Regions from separate parts of the Homo sapiens genome. Here all the other regions are linked to region 3. Evidence: promoter capture Hi-C in 16 types of primary human blood cells and fetal thymus (Javierre and others, 2016). All regions are on one chromosome and are shown on one strand. Each heading gives the region's core, a stretch centred on a gene start or on the middle of the fragment in contact. The rest is flanking DNA. Distances are from core to core; before and after follow the strand shown.

Region 1 (2,700 bases), core at 165-2,664, 99 kb before region 3:
GTCTCCTGAGAAGGAATAATGGGGCGGGTGGGGAGGGAGAAGGCAGTGTCCCAAAAACCAACAAAGGTTTTACCAAAGGTAATACCATCATTTCTGAGCAGCAGTTCCTTAACTTGTGAATGTGGCAAATGTTCTCCTTTACAAATTGTTCTGAAGGTAAAATGAGATCATGTAAACGAAAATCCTTTGTAAATTACAGATGTGTGTTATAAATGAAGTATCTCTCGAGTCACTCCATCTTCTGGCGTTGGGTCTCTGATTCTTAAAACGGATAAAATAAGCATGAACTCGTTTCTGGGCCCCTCCTCCTCACTAACCCTAACCTTTCCAACCTCACTGTCCCATCTCTGTGCGCACCGCTTCTTCCTTCAGAAACCTTGAGCGATCCGTGTTTCCTTCAGGCCGAAGTGCAGACTCTGGATATAGAAGGGCCCAAGGCTTGCTTACCAATCCTGCCTTGGTACCTGCCTTGCAGACCTTCACCCCAGTAAATTGGTCTCATCGCTACCTGAAGCACACAGTGAACTTTCCCATCTCCCTGCCTTTGCTCTTATCCTATCCTCTTCCTGTTCTCTGTGTTTCAAAATCGCATCCCTATTCTGGACCTGGCTTCACCCATGCCTCCCCTTTACTCCTACCCTGCATGCAGTTTATACACAGCACGCAGGTGGCCATCTTCCTTCCTCATAAGTTGCTGCGGCTACGTTCCCAGCTGCCATTCCATGTTGTCAGAGTGTAAGCTCATGTCTTAATAGGTATTTCTCATATTAATGTAGTGTATGATAGGGTTTGGCTGTGTCCCCACCCAAATCTCATTTTGAATTGCAGTTCCCATAATCCCCATGTGTCGTGGGAGGGACCAGGTGGAGATAACTGAATCATGGGAGCTGTTTCCCTACATCCTGTTCTCGTGATAGTAAGTTCTCACGAGATCTAATGGTTTAATAGAGGGCTTTTCCCTTCGCTCGGCTCTCATTCTCCCTCCTGCCACCATATGAAGAAAGACGTATTTGCTTCCTCTTCCACCATGATTGTAAGTTTCCTGAGCCAGCCATGCTGAACTATGAGTCAATTAAATCTGTTTCCATTATAAATTACCCAGCCTTGGGTATGTCTTTGTTAGCAGTTTGAGAATGGACTAATACAGTAAATTGGTACCACAGAGAGTGGGGTGCTGCTGTAAAGATACCCAAAAATGTGGAAGCAACTTTGGAACTGAGTAACAGGCAGAGGTTGGAACAGTTTGGAGGGTTCAGAAGAAGACAGGAAAATGTGGGAAACATTTAGAACTTCCTAGAGACTTGTTGAATAGCTTTGACAAATTGCTGATAGTGATATGGACAGTGAAGTCCAGGCTGAAGTGGTCAAGATGGAGATGAAGAACCTATTGGAAGCGGGAGTAAAGGTCACTCTTGCTATGGAAAGAGACTGGTAGCATTTTGCCTCTGCCGTAGAGATGCATGGAACTTTGAGAGAGATGAGTTAGGGTATCTGGCAGAAGAAATTTCTAAGCAGCAAAGTGTTCGAGAGGAAGCAGAGCATAAAAGTTTGGAAAATTTTGCAGCCTGATGATGGGATAGAAAAGAAAACTCCATTTTCTGGGGAGAAATTTAAGCTGGCTGCAGAAATTTGCATAAGTAACGTCAAATGTTAATCACCAAGAGAATGGGGAAGATGTCTCCAGGGCATGTCAGAGACCTTCCAGCAGCCCCTCCTATCACAAGCCTGGGGGCCTATAAGGGCCCCCCCCCCACCCCCCGCTCTATGCTGCATTGGGACATGGTGCCCTGCATCCTAGCTTCTTCAGCTCCAGCCTTGGCTAAAAGGGACCAACATAAAGCTCAGGCTGTTGCTTCAGAGGGTGCAAGCCCCAAGCCTTGGCTTACACATGGTGTTGGGCCTATGGGTGCACAGAAGTCAAGAATTAAGGTCTGGGAACCTCTGCCTAGATTTCAGAGGATGTATGGAAACACCTGGATGTCCAGGCAGAAGTTCGCTCTCTGGAGAACCTCTGCTAGGGCAGTGTGGAAGGGAAATACGGGGTTGGATCCCCCACACAGAGTCCCGATTGGTGCACTGCCTGGTGGAGCTGTGAGAACAGGGCCACCGTCCTCCAGACCCCAGAATGGTAGCTTGCACTGTGCACCCGGAAGAGTCCCAGACACTCAACACCAGCCTGTGAAAGTAACCAAGGTGGGGGTGGGGGTATACCCTGCAAAGCCACAGGAGTGGGGCTGCCCAAGGCCATGGGAGCCCACCTCTTGCATCAACATCACCTGGATGGGAGACACGGAGTCAAAGGAGATCATTTTGGAACTTTAAGGTTTAATGACTGCCGTATTGGATTTCGGACTTGCATGGCACCCGTAGCCTCTTTGTTTTGGCCAATTTCTCCCATTTGGAATGGGTGTATTTACCCAATCCCTGTACCCCCATTGTATCTAGGAAGTAACTAACTTGCTTTTGGTTTTACAGGCCCATAGGTGGAAGGGACTTGCCTTGTCTGAGATGAGACTTTGGACTTGGAGTTTTGAGTTAATGCTGGAATGAGCTAAGACTTTGGGTGACTGTTGGAAGGGCAGGGTTATGTTTGGAATTATGAGGACATGAGATTTGGGAGGGGCCAGGGACAGAATGATATGGTTTGGCTGTGTTCTCACCCCAATCTCATCTTGAATTATAGTTCCCATAATCCCCACA
Region 2 (2,700 bases), core at 71-2,570, 72 kb before region 3:
CTTTTCCAGAATGATATGCAATTGTAACCTTTTCAGACTGGCTTCTTTAACTTAGCAATATGCATTTAAGATTCTTCCATGTCTTTTTGTGGCTCGATAGCTCATTTTTTTGTTGCTGAATAATTTTCCACTGCATAGATGCACCACAGTTTGTGCAGGAGCTGTGTGCTTGAGAAGCTATGTGTGCTCTAGGAGCTGTTCACTGGAGAAGCCACTCCTTAAAGCAGGCTGCGGGTCAAGCCTGTGGGAACCAGGAAGCAAACCGTTTTTCGTCTGCAGCATCTCTCTAGCGCCCTCTACTGACAAAGCTTAAAATTGTGCCAGCTAGCGAAGAAAAAAAATATGTAAAAGGCCCAGATTCATTTTCACTAGCAGGCAAAAAGGATGGTTTTGAGGCTGCCGGGCTATAAATCAAAAACGGGCACAACAATCTAACCTACCACAGCTAGTAAGATTCAAGGAGAGAAGCCAGGCAAACTGAAAGCTAATGACTTATGAAAAGCACCCAAGCTCACTCTCTGGACCAAAGCACTAGTTTTTTTTGTTTTGTTTTGTTTTGTTTTGTTTTGTTTTGTTTTGTTTTGTTTTGTTTTGTTTTTTGAGACAGAGTCTCACTCTGTTGCCCAGGCCGGAGTGCAATGGCATGATCTTGGCTTATTGCAAACTCCACCTCCCAGGTTCAAGCGATCCTTCCACCTCAGCCTCCTGAGTAGCTGGAATTACAGGTGTGTGCCACCATGCCTGGCTAATTTTTATATTTTTAGTAGAGACGGGGCTTCACCACGTTGACCAGGCTGGTCTTGAACTCCTGACCTGAAGTGACCCACCTGCTTCAGCCTCCCAAAGTGTTAAGATTACAGGTGTGAGCCACCATGCCCAGTCTCAAAGCACTAGTTCTGCTGATCAGTGAGTCTCAAAGTGCCCCCCTCGGATCTCTTATGCTAGAACCACCTACGGGCTTGTTACAACGCAGATTCCTGTGCTCCAGCTGGAACTGACAACTGAATTAGAATGAAGGAAGGCAGACAGGCATCTGTAGTTTAAACTTTTACTCCAGCTAGCTCTATGTACACTAACATTTAAGATTCAGGTGATCCTTGAGGGTAGGGGCCTTTTTAATTCATACTTGGCTCTTGGCCCAGTATTTGACTCTTAGAGGGTATTGCTGTAGATAGGCTGGTTCCTGCATTGGTTGGTTGGTTGGTTGGTTGGTTGAGAGATCTGATTCAAACCCAAGCAGCTGTAACTGGCCATGAGCTACAGCCCCAGCAATACTTTAACGGCATTTGGCAGATGAGCACGTCCCTTCACTAATGTTAGTAAAGCCCAGAGGTGACACATCCTCACTAGAATGGCAGATGGTATTTTCCATAGATGACTGTGGCAATATCTCCCATCCCACATCTTCTCCTACAATGTGACCTTGCCACCCTTCCATCAAGAGGCAGGGTCTATGTCCTGGATCCTTGAATCTAGGCAGGCTTGGGACTTGCTTGCAACTGATAGAATGTGCAGAAGTGATGCTCTCTGAGGCTACCTTAAAAAAGGCAATGGCCGGGCGCGGTGCCTCACGCCTGTAATCCCAGCACTTTGGGAGGCTGAGGTGGGTGGATCACAGGGTCAGGAGATCGAGACCATCCTGGCTAACATGGTGAAACTTCATCTCTACTAAAAATGCAAAAAATTAGCTGGGCGTGGTGGTGGGTGCCTGTAGTCCCAGGTACTCGGGAGGCTGAGGCAGGAGAATGGCGTGAACCCGGGAGGTGGAGCTTGCAGTGAGCCGAGATCGCGCCATTGCACTCCAGCCTGGGCGAGAGTGTGAGACTCCATCTCAAAAAGAAAAAAAAAAAAAAAAAAAGGCAATGCAGTTTCTTCCCTGTTCCTTGGGGCTCATGCTTTTGGAGCCATGAGTCTCCGTATGAAAAGTACCACTACCTTGAACCTCCACACTGTGAGGAAGCCCAGGCCTTCTGGAAAGGCCACATGTGGGTTCCCTAATCAACAGCCCTGGCTGAGTGAGGTTCCGCCCAACAGCCAGATCAACCACCAGACAGTAAGTGGTGATGTCTCCTGGGATTCCAACCCCCAGCTCTTGAGTCACTCTTAGCCATTAAGTCTTCCCAGCTGAGGCTCCCAAGCCATCCCACTGCCATGTCCAATTTCTGACCACAGAATCTGTGAGGGTAGTCAAATGGTTGTTATAAGCTGCTTAGTTTAGGGATAATTGGTTACACAGCAATAGTAATTACAACAAATTAGAAAGCACTTCTGGATTAGAATCACCTGGCCATCTCATCATCCAAATCATAGAAGCTGAAAAGCATAAGCTTCCACTTTAGCCTTCCCTCCACTGACAGTATTGCTAAGATCTTCCTTCCCCTCTGCTGAACATCACTGTGGAAGAGAAAACCCAAATACTCCTAAACTTGTTATAGTGTCTAAGAGTTGTATTTGAAAGACTTTAAAAGACAAAAACAAAAAAACACTAGTTCAGAAGTGTACCACATGCCTCACTACTTAATACCAGGGAGGCTTTATAAAGCAACATGAAAACCTAAACCAGTGTCATTTTTATATTCCCATCTGAAAAGAAAAGCACAAAATAATCAACTGTGCCGTAGAGTATCCAGGAATTGGTCAAGTAATCTTTAGTAAGCCTCTCCATTTGGAAGACCAAATGGAATAATGAGAAAGAGGAAA
Region 3 (2,771 bases), core at 239-2,738:
GGATGGATCATCGGGGCCTCTTCCTGCATGAGTCCAGCTAGGGGTGGTTTTAACTAACCTAAAACCAAAGAAGAGGCTCCAACTAATCCAATGGTTTGGATCAAAATGCAACTTTTACAGGGCTGGGGCTTCACCCTATCTTCGGGTTTATCTCTGACATGCCAGGGAGACAGTTCTTAACATTCTTATTACTTAATGGATATCAGATTGTTGCTTTTCGGAGTGGTTTTTCCATTTTTTGAAATTTAATTTGTTCTTAAGTATCTTTACAGAAAAAAATCCCATTTATTTAAGAAGTACTGTATTCTCTGGTTCTTATAGCTGCTCATTTTACATAGTTTTAGTGTGTACAAACGATTTTTTTTGTTTCATTTATTTCTAATATACCTTCTCATGTACTTGCCAAAATTTCATGTTTGACACAGTCTGCATACCTGCCAGGATTCTTGCTGTTAATGTGAAGGCGCCTGTTTGGGTTACTCAATTGTTGGACAACTGGGCCCATTCCCAGGTTTTGGTCATCACGAACATTGTGAATAGCCCTGCTGTTAACATCTTTCTGCAAGTTCTCCCCCTTCTTCGCCCTTTGGATCATTTCCTTGGAAATGTACTTCCTTAAATGGGTTTACTGGGTCAAAGGGGCTCTATGAACGGTTTTATAGCTCTTGGCACATAATTTTCGGATTGCGCCCTGGGCGGATCTAAGCGATGGCACCGGCCGCCGAGAGGGCAGGAATGCGGCGGAACGGTCCCGATAACCACCCCTCTTCCGCCCCCCAAAAGGAGAAGACCCCGCGAAGGCCTGCGGCTGGAAAGCCTTTTTCCGGTGCTCTCCCGTTCTCTTGAAGTGGTTAGTGTCTAAGCCGGGCAGAAACGCTTTCAGGATCCCAGGCCCTCCTGCCCCAGGACTAGGATTCCACCCGCCTCCGCTAATTCGGAATCCCAGACACCCAGGGCCCCCTCTCAGGCTCGCCTCGAAACCCCCGGCCCTGCGGCCCCTCGCGGGCGCCGAGCTCGGTCGCTATTATTTGGGCGCGGGTGAGGCGAGGCCCGCATAGCTGCGCGCTGAGTCAGCGGGGGCCGCGGCGGGGGGCGCGGCCGGGCTCCCCCCCAGCGCACGGTGCGCTGGGCCCGGCGTCTGGGGTTCCGCCTCGGGGCCGCGGGGTAGTCCGCGGGGTCCGGCGGGAGGGGCAGGGGGCGCGCGGAAGGACCCGGCCTGGGTGCGTCTCCCCTCCCCCAGCAGGAGCTCGGCCGTGACCGCGCGCCCGGCTATTCGCCTCAGAGAACCTCGCCAGGGGGAGGAGGCGAGGGCGGGCGAGGAAGGGGCGCAGAGGAGAAAGCGGAGCGGGACAGACGCAGGAAGGGAAAGAAAGGGAGGAAGCGCGGTGCGCGGGGCGGGGCGGGGCGGAGCGCGCGCAGGGCCGGCGGGGACGCGCGCCGGCGGCTGCGGGCGGAGGGGCTTGTGGGTAGCGGCGGCGCGCGGCCGGAGACGGGCGGCCGCGCGGGAGTGTGTGCGCCGGGAGCTGGCTGAGGGACTGCAAGGCGGCCGGCGGCGACCATGGCAGCGGGCCGGCGGCGGCCGTAGTGGCCCAGGCCTGGGCTTCAGCCTCCCGGGGCCCCAGAGGGCGGGGCGGTCCGGGCCGCGGCGGTGGCGGCGCCACTTCCCTGCTCCCGCCCGAGGACTCCTGCGGGCACTCGCTGAGGACCAGCGGACCGGCGGCGCGAATCTGACTGAGGGGCGGGGACGCCGTCTGTTCCCCGCCGCTCCCGGCAGGGCCGGGCCGGGCTGGGCCGGGCTGGGCCGGGCGGGCCCCTGGGAGCAGCCCCCAGGCGGGGGACCGCCTTGGAGACCCGAAGCCGGAGCTAGAGGCAGGCGGTGGGCCCGGGTGGAGTCCCGGCCGGAGCTGGTGGTTCGGGGGCGGTGCTAGGCCCCGAGGCTGCGGGACCTGAGCGCGAGGAGCCTGAGTGCGGGTCCAGCGGTGGCGGCATGAGCCGGCCCCCGCCGACGGGGAAAATGCCCGGCGCCCCCGAGACCGCGCCGGGGGACGGGGCAGGCGCGAGCCGCCAGAGGAAGCTGGAGGCGCTGATCCGAGACCCTCGCTCCCCCATCAACGTGGAGAGCTTGCTGGTAGGTGGCCGGGGCCTGGGAGCTTGCTCGTTGCAGCTCACACCTCAGATCCCCTCTCCGCCCAGCCCTCCGTGCCCGTCCGCCCGTGGGGAGGGGGAGGTCTTGCCCCACCCCGCCCTGCTTCCGGCAGCCGGGGCCGGAGACCAAACGATTCTGTCACCGAGTTCCAAGAGTAGTGACCCGCCTTTGATTCCTCCCTCTACCTCCTGCTGGAGCCAGTGTCATCCCCGGCTGCTCCTTTCTTGCAGCACTGGGAGGAAAACACCCCTCTTCTCCTTCCGCCTGCCCACTCTGGGGAGGTGGGTGGAGGACTGGCCATGCTTCATACACCAGGTTAGCTGATTTGAAAGTGTCATGCTACGTGGGGACTTGGTGCGAGCGAGGGAGAAAGAAACCTGATGCTGTCCCTGTTGCGAGTACTCACTGGGGTACATGACAAAGAGCCGCCCTCACTCTCTCCTTTTAGTCTGAAATCTTGGAACACACAGCTAAAGTTTTGCTGTTTTCACTTGCGTTTGAGCATTCCATACTTGCTATTTAGTGCATTTTAATTGCTGTAAATTTAATTCCCTGAGATTATTGCGCCAGAGCCAAAAAATCAGTCTGAATTGTGGAGTGGAATAAATCTGTCCTCTTCATTGCG
Region 4 (2,700 bases), core at 184-2,683, 99 kb after region 3:
TTTATGTGTATAAAATGTTTGACCTTTTGTGAAAACTTGTCAAAGTGACTGACTTATTTTTATTTATTGTTTTATTCAATGATTTTGAATATTTTCACAGAGTTGTACAACCATCACCATTACCTAATTTTAGGACATTTTTCTCACCCTCCAAAGAAGCCCTGGACCAATTAGCATTTATTCCCCCAATTCCACCTGCCCCCCTGCCCCTGCCAACTGCTATTCTATTTTATGTCTTTATGGATTTGCCTATTCTGAAAGCTTCCTATAAATCAATCACACAACATGTATGTATGTCTTTTGTGACATCTTTCACCTAGCCTAATGTTTTGACATTCATTCATTCATGTTATAGCATGTATCAACACTTAATTTCTTATTATGGTTAAATAGTATTCTGTTACATGGTTGTACCACACTTCGTTCATTCATCACTTAATGGACATTTGTGTTGTTTCTCCTTTTTGACTATAATGAATAATGCTGCTTTGAGTGTTCTTTCATAAGGATTTTGGTACATATGTTCACACATTTCTTTTAGGAATCTACATTGCAGTGAAATTAATGAGTCATTGGATATGCCTATAATTAATTTTATTGGACTATTTCAGTTTTCCAAATCTCAGCTCTTATTTTTAAATGACTATTAAATATTTAATTGTATTAATACCCCCACAGTTACTATACTTTTGTTAGAAATATCACTTTTCATTTTTGTTAATATAAATTAGCCACAGTAATAGGTTAAATCTTGGGCCTATCTGTATTTCTTAGAAATATATTATTAGGGTGATTTCTGAATTCAATAGATAAATATTGACATATTTTAAAAACTTTTATTCATTTGCGGGTAGAGAGGACTTTGTCTTTTTAAAGCCATTTATATATCCAGTTTGCTGTGTTTTTCTAGTGTTGTTATTTTTATGGCAAATGCTTCCTTGCTTTCCTTTGTAGTTTTATCACCCAGATGTGTACCCCTAAACACCTTAGTTTAGTTTTGGCATTAAAAAAAAATTTAAGTTCAGGTATATCTTTTAAATCTCTCAATGTAGAGAGTTTCCCTCTTCTTTCATTTACTTTTGTCCCCAGGTTGAAGAAACCTAGATTTTGCTGATCTCTTCTTGTGGTGTAGTTTAACATGTTTCTCTCTCACTTGTATTTTTGTAAATTGGTTGTTAGATATAGAGGCTTGATCAGATTCAGGTTCCACTTTGGAAGGGGACGGTATAGGACTACTTCATAGGCCAGGTTCATAGGCCACCTATAAGAAGACTAATGTCTGGTTATCTGGTGTGTTACCAGCTATTTGTGCTCAGTGTCTTGATATATCATTTATTAAGATTTGTCAAATGATACTTCAGTTCAATCATTCCTCCTTGGTTATAGTGACTGGAATACTTCTGTGAAGAAAAATATTTCTCTGTTTACTTGTTAAGTTACTCAGGGTGCAGTTCACACTGGAAGGACAGGATAAATGCTTTATTCTTTTATTGTATTTACCAGTTTTCAAAATAAGGGTGACCAATTTTGGGGGAGAATCAGTTTGAACTCATGGACTTAAAACCTGTGTGATATGTTTCAGTCCTTTGAATATCTTATTGATGCTCAAATTGTGGTACCTTTGACCAGTGGGATCAGAATGAGGTTGGTTTCTGAAACCTTTAACGAAGCCTTAATAATCTTTGATAGCTTGCTTGCAATGTGATGTAACAGGGTGCTCCAGACCTATCTTAAACATTTGCTGCTCTTGATGTGTAATTAACTGTGCTTGTAGGTCTGTCTTTTATACATGTGTGAGTTTTTCTTTACAATAGATTCCTAGCATTGGGATTGCTAGGTCAGATGGTATGCACATTTGACATTTTGATTGATAGCACCAGATTGCTTTGTTAAAAAATTTTTCTTTACAAGTTTACATTATCTTTGTACAATAGATGTTCTCTTTCACCACAGTTTTAGCAAATACTTGATATTGTAACTATTTTAAATTTTTACTAGTTGCATGCTTGAGAAATAAGGTGTTAACTGTGTTAAGTTGTACTTCCTTGATTACTTACGAGATTCAGCATCTTTCATATGCTTATTAATAATTTATATTCCTTATACATTAAGCCTAAAATATAATTTATATTTTTATAAATTTATAATATAATTTTATAAATAATACATGATTTATAATATAATTTATATTTTATACATCAAGCAAAGTATAAGGAATATAAATTTCATTGCTAATGTATAAGGAATATAAATTAGTAAGCAAATGAAATATGCTAATCTTTTATAGTGCACTGAAAAAGATTTCAAAGTAGTGTAAAATTTAAAGTAAATGCTATTTGCAATAATGTGATTTTTAAAAGTGGGATACTGAATTTGATTTACTAATATTTTGTTAAGTAGTTTTGCATCTATGTGCATAATGAGATTTGACCTTTAATTTAATTTAATTATTTAAACATGGGCTCTTGGTTTTCTTATTACGGTAAGACTACTCTAATAGACATAATAGGGAAGCATACTACTTTTTTCTGTGCTTTGATACAGTTTATATAAAATATAAACTATTCATTTCATGAGGCTTGAATGAACTTACTTGCAAAGCTTTCTAGAAAAAAATTCTTTTTTTTTTCTTTTTTCTAGAGACAGGATCTCACTCTGTTGCCCAGGCTGTATTTAGTACAGTGGCAAGGTCATGGCTCA

Evidence for each region. Contacts are between HindIII fragments. The CHiCAGO score rates a contact against its expected background, and 5 or more counts as called.
Region 1: a contact is called between a fragment that was not itself captured here and the fragment with the promoter of ROCK2 in region 3, in 1 of 17 cell types (megakaryocytes). The highest score is 5.2, in megakaryocytes.
Region 2: a contact is called between a fragment that was not itself captured here and the fragment with the promoter of ROCK2 in region 3, in 1 of 17 cell types (megakaryocytes). The highest score is 6.3, in megakaryocytes.
Region 4: a fragment that was not itself captured here is called in contact with the fragment with the promoter of ROCK2 in region 3 in 1 of 17 cell types (megakaryocytes); the score reaches 5.4 in megakaryocytes.

What each region holds. Positions count from the first base shown.
Region 1 is chr2:11,441,912-11,444,611 of GRCh38, reverse strand. It overlaps E2F6 (E2F transcription factor 6), which reads left to right. Exons shown (of 7, transcript NM_198256.4): 7 at 1-237. Among named protein-coding and RNA genes, the nearest start is that of E2F6, 23 kb to the left of the region's middle. The HindIII fragment of the contact is 7,403 bases long and covers 1-2,700 here.
Region 2 is chr2:11,415,750-11,418,449 of GRCh38, reverse strand. The region is part of intron 2 of LOC105373429 (a long non-coding RNA gene); the gene reads right to left. Among named protein-coding and RNA genes, the nearest start is that of LINC00570, 23 kb to the right of the region's middle. The HindIII fragment of the contact is 2,019 bases long and covers 311-2,329 here.
Region 3 is chr2:11,343,353-11,346,123 of GRCh38, reverse strand. It overlaps ROCK2 (Rho associated coiled-coil containing protein kinase 2), which reads left to right and starts at 1,488. Exons shown (of 33, transcript NM_004850.5): 1 at 1,488-2,128. The coding sequence starts at 1,988. LOC124907733 (a long non-coding RNA gene) reads right to left here and starts at 612. Exons shown (of 2, transcript XR_007086216.1): 1 at 435-612. RefSeq lists silencers at 1,004-1,163, 1,234-1,303, 1,444-2,173. The HindIII fragment of the contact is 12,622 bases long and covers 1-2,771 here.
Region 4 is chr2:11,244,703-11,247,402 of GRCh38, reverse strand. All of the region lies in intron 4 of ROCK2 (Rho associated coiled-coil containing protein kinase 2), which reads left to right. Among named protein-coding and RNA genes, the nearest start is that of SLC66A3, 91 kb to the right of the region's middle. The HindIII fragment of the contact is 2,340 bases long and covers 264-2,603 here.